Regions from separate parts of the Homo sapiens genome. Here region 1 is linked to region 2. The links are contacts of gene promoters, found by promoter capture Hi-C in human tissues and cell types (Jung and others, 2019). All regions are on one chromosome and are shown on one strand. The core of a region is centred on a gene start or on the middle of the fragment in contact, and the rest is flanking DNA. Distances in the headings are between cores, read along the strand shown. Region 1 overlaps ATP10B (ATPase phospholipid transporting 10B (putative)). Region 2 holds the start of ATP10B (ATPase phospholipid transporting 10B (putative)).

Region 1 (2,700 bases), core at 2-2,501, 200 kb after region 2:
ACGTATGTATATATACTACCTATGTATGTATGTACGTATGTATATATACTACGTATGTATATATACTACATATTTGTATGTATATATGATATATAGTATATAATATATTGTATATATAATATATTGTATATATAATATATATTATGTATTTATAATATATATTTATGTATACATAATATATACATGTATATGTTATATATACACGTGTATATATAATATATACACTATATATACATAAATATATACATAATTATATACATAAATATAAATATATAAATATATAATATAAATATATATAATATATAAATATAAATATGTATGTATATATTATATATACATGTATATATAATATATTATATATACATGTATATATAATATATTATATATACATGTATATATAATATATTATATAATTATATATATATTATATATATTATATATAATTTATAATCTTTTTATAATATATATTATATATAATTAATATATAATATATTATATAATATATTATATATTTTTATATATATTTATATTTATGTATATAATATGTACATGTATAGTACATAAATATATGTATATATTATATATAAATTATATATGTATATATTATTTATACATATGTATTTATATATGTATATATAATATATACATATATAATTTTATTTTATAAAATATAAAATTCGTCAGGTCTGGTGGTGCACGCCTGTAGTCCCAGCTACTCAGGAGGCTGAGGTGGGAAGATTGTTTGAACCCGGGAAGTCGAGGCTACAGTGAGCTGTGATCGCACCACTGCACTGCAGCCTGGGTGACAGAGTGAGACCCTGTCTCGAATAAATAAATAAATAAATAAATAAATAAATAAATAAATAAATAAGAACCCTGACAGGTTTGTAAGGCTCAGCAGTTCTCTGTGTCTTGAGCTGGCCCAGCAGCTGCCCTGGAGGGAAATACAGCAAATTCTTAAAAGCAAGCAGGGCCTCAGTGGTTGTCTTTGCAGCCAGCAGGACCCATATGCCCCTCTCCACAGCCCCTCTTCCTCCAACTGAAGAAGAGAGCCCAGGGGACAAGTAGCTAGAAAGAGCAGGGTCACCTTTTCATGAAAAGAGGAAGATGGGGACAAAAGTCCTGTGCTCAGCAGGAAAGGAGACACAGCAGGAGGAAGGGACATTTCAGGAGGGAGGTGGCTAGGAAGCCCCAACAGAGGAACAAGAGTCAAACTTCACCATTGCTGGGGCCCGGCAGGTGTGATTAAACAGGCAGCAGGGACTCCGAGGCATTACAGAAGGATCATTAGTGCTCAGACCCCACTGCCAGTCATATCTGAAATGAGTTTGGATTTAGAGACCCACCACTGAGCTGAGTGGTGTGGATCAGGAGTGAAGCACATGACTTAATCAGGGGCATGAAAGCAGCTGACAAATTACAGCATGATTTGTCATCATCTTGGAGCTCAGCAAGTGTTTGTCCCTGAAAGAATCAATACCTGGAGGGAAAAGGGCCATATTTTTAGAAACTCCTGGATGGGTAATTTATTTCAAGTGAGTAGAGAGTTTATTTATGTTGGCACCCCCTCAAATCCAATGGACAGTATATTTACACGAAGCCAGAAAATGCTATCATTTCTTTTAATCAATTTACCCCTTTGAACAGCTGTACCTTGAAGCTTTCAGTGATAAACTCACGCCCTTTGCTAAAAGCTCTACCCAGGAAACCATCTCCAATCCCACCTTTACCACTGCTGCCTTCTGTTTGGGTGGAATGTTACATGTTTCAACACTTTAACACATAGATTCTGTTTTTTGAGGCACAATTAAGATGGGCAGGGCAGGTGATGTTAGCCCCATTCTACAGATGAAGAAACGAAGGCTCATGAGTTGAACGTAGGATTAGTCAATGTAGAGGAGAGTCAGAAAGCAAGATCTCCCCACCTCAAGTTGTGTTTCATCCCCATTGGACTAAAAGAGTTTGTACAACAGAAATGCCTTTAAAAAAAATACTTAGCTACAAGACTGTTCACCAGGAAGCAATGTGCTGAGTAAGTAAGGAGTAGAGGGTCTGCAGGTGAACTTGAATTAAAATCCCAGCCCATGAGATTTAAATAGGTTTGACCATGGGGAGCCTTCTTTACCTTTCAGTCACAGATTTCCCATCTCTAAAGAAAGGCAAATTAAAGCTCCTACTTCATAGAATGACGGTAAGCTTGAAAATAAATAATAAAGTTCTTATTACAGTGTCTGGCAGAAATAAGTGTCCAGTAAATGCTATTTATTTTGCTCTATTAGCTACTATTTTCACAGCATTTTTATAACAGCAAAACAAATTGAAACACTATACCTATTAAATGGTGAAACGATTAAAGGAAATATGGTCAATTTTGCTCCTGGACCAAACTGAGGGTTGGGCTGCTATTTCTCGTGGCCCAATAACAAGATGCAGATGAATTGGGGAGGAAGAGAGTTTTTATTTCTCTAACCAGTTACAGGGAGAAGGCCTGGAAGTTATTGCCAGACCAACTCAAAGTTACAAAGTTTTCCAGAGTTTATATACCTTCTAAGCTATATGCCTACGTGTAAGTGTGCATTCATCTGAAGACATAAGTGATTAACTTCTTTTAATCTATAACTAAGGTCTGGGTCCTGAAGACCTACTTCTGGAGCCTCAGTAAGTTTAATTAATCTAAATGAGTCTAGGTGCTGAGGTGAT
Region 2 (2,711 bases), core at 175-2,674:
GCATGAAAACCCAAGGGATGCTACAGACACATTTGTTCCTAAATTGCATGTGCCTCTCTCTTTACCAGGAAAGTGATAATGGGAAAGAGCTGGTCTTAGGAGAAAGACCAGTGATGGAAAATATACTAGTCTTAGGAGAAAGACAATGTGGTTTGAGGTCCCATGTTCACCACCAAATTCCTGTTTGGCTTTGAGCAATTGTATTCACTTCTCTGAGCTTCAGCATTCTCCTCCATGGCACAAGGGGGCTTCACTAAATAACCTCCAGTTACCCACTAGTGCAATATTCTGCAATTTAACCGTATCTGTGATTCTAGACCACACTCGTCCCTAGAAGCCAGAGCACTCTGAGTGAAGGGAAGTAAAGGAACAGGGACTTAAGCATTCTTCTCTTTAGCAGATGGAGAATTTTGAAATGCCAACTCGCTCTTTTAAAAATTCTAGACTGTCTAAAGCATAGGCAAATTTCATGTTCTTAAAAATTCCTAGCTTGTGTCTTACACACACAGCGATGCAGATTTTAGATGGTGTGGGTGTTTCTTCTCTTGTAAAATGTTTCCTATGTCCATGTTTCTTCTTGGTATTCTGATAAGATCTGTAGGTACATACAAAGTTCACAATTACTCTACCAACCAACCAAAATCTTATGTAAAGATTTTCATGAAGTTAGTATGTTCACTTCTTTCCAACACCTTTTATTCCTAAGTTTGGTAATATTTCTTTTTTTTACTACCCTTAAAATCAACTTACTGCTCATTCTACCTTCTCTTTTATTTATGGACCCATCAATAATTATCCATCAATACAGCAACTTGCTCATGACATTTATGCCAATTAGTTGAGTTGTAGGTAACTTAATAAAAGGATTATACATGAAAATCTCATTTTAGGGTATGAATCGAAGCTATCAATAAGCCCATTACTAATTCTGATTTTCTGTAAGTTTGCACCATTCACATAATCTGCCACTATAATATATTGGTCCCACTTTCCTTATTTTGTATAATCAAACAGTAATCAATAAAAACTATGACTACTGCAAAATGAGACTTCTGAAGCTTTGAGGGCAAATTCATCATCAGCATGCATATAAAAGTCACTGTAGAGAGTCTTTTCTTTCTTAAGTGCCCTTGAAACCCAGCAGCTGAATCATATTTCAGGCCCCCCAAAGAGAACTGCAAGGTTATAATTGTCTCACACTTAATTACATGCATTACCAAAGGTAGATGGACAAAGTCATTTTGTACCATGCGTAGAGAATAAAAATCACCATGAATTTTGATATTGCTGGCTCATTGATTCACAGGAAGTAGAAATTTATGCAAGAACCATGTCTAACAATGTAAATGTTCAGCCAAGTCGAAGAACACTGCCTTCACTGTTCTGGGACTCGGCCTCACATTCACAGACTTGCTATTCTTCTCTTTCACTCTTGGGCCTAGCGAGGCAGCTTATTTTTCCTTTTTCTTTCATTGGTCACAGTTATTTCTTTTCAGTGTGTCATCTTCTCTAAGTTTCTGAGGGAGTGTTAGCTTGAGGCCTTGCCTTGACATAATCAGATATAATCAGAAAAATGAAAAATTCCATAGGAAAGAGAACTATTTTAGCCAAGGTGTGCGAGAGAAATACCGCCACTTTCAAGCACTGTTTTCTTCTACTGGAGTCTGCTCAATAGGGACGTCAGCTTTGCTGGGGTAAGTAAAAGCATCCTGGCCTTAACCTATATAATGGGGGAGTAATTGCCTCTTAGAATCATCAAGTCTAAGTTCTGAATTAGGCCCAGGATATGACTACTTTTCTTTACACTGCATTTGAAATTTCATTTGGCTTTCTGGGTGCGAGATCCACATTTCTTTTCTAACAGAATGTTTTATTTTTCGTCAATTGATTTCATTATGATAAGCTGATGGCAAATGCTACTTCCTCACTCAACAGGGCTTGCAGTCTGAATGTGCCTGAATACATTTTATGATAAATAATATATCCTGCTATCCTGCATTCATCCAGTGCAGCCTGAGGAAGCAGATGGAGTTACAGCCTTCTTCTCAAAGCAGAAAGAAACTATAGCTTTGAGGAAGAGAATGAGATCATTACATGGCTTCCCAATTTCATCTTGATAAACTCTGAAGCTGCCATATTGCAGTAGTTTTCAACTATAGGTGGGAAGCTTGACTTTCCTTTGAGTTCAAAGGAGAAAACTGTTGCTTAAAGAAAAATGTGTTTTTTCCCTAAGTATGAGTTACTCCTTCCAGAAAAAAAATAAAAAAGCCCCATGCATGCAGGTCTGTGATGAATACATTTAGGACAGTCCTGTGGCCTGCTATTAAGGCTGGAGTGACACTATCCCTAACCCTAAGGTGAAAAGTAATGTTAAAAATAAAAATTATACTGAGCTGCTAGTTATTTTGCCTACAGGAGTGCATGCCTGTGTCTGGTGGAACTTGGTTTTTCTCTGAATTTGCCAGGCAATTTTCTCTGAATTTGCCAGGTAGGCAGAGGAGAATTTGAAAACTGTAGAGAGGAGCTTGACCTCCCAAAGCCAATCTGGCACTCTGCTACTTCCTTCTTCCACAGTTTCTTCTCTGTTTCCAGATCTTGCAAATGTACAGTCAAGACTGCTTGGAGTATTATTCCATTAACAGACATACAGTTACATTAAGCCATTAATCAGGCAGATCACAGATGTTGTTTTCTGTCTAGATGTTACTATA

The links. Contacts are between HindIII fragments. The study calls those that stand out against the background at their distance.
Region 1: a fragment that was not itself captured here is called in contact with the fragment with the promoter of ATP10B in region 2 in 1 of the 25 tissues and cell types used here (dorsolateral prefrontal cortex).

The regions. Positions count from the first base shown.
Region 1 is chr5:160,650,602-160,653,301 of GRCh38, reverse strand. The region is part of intron 7 of ATP10B (ATPase phospholipid transporting 10B (putative)); the gene reads left to right. Among named protein-coding and RNA genes, the nearest start is that of MIR146A, 170 kb to the right of the region's middle. The HindIII fragment of the contact is 3,316 bases long and covers 1-2,700 here.
Region 2 is chr5:160,850,924-160,853,634 of GRCh38, reverse strand. ATP10B (ATPase phospholipid transporting 10B (putative)) reads left to right here and starts at 1,424. Exons shown (of 26, transcript NM_025153.3): 1 at 1,424-1,694. The HindIII fragment of the contact is 6,864 bases long and covers 1-2,711 here.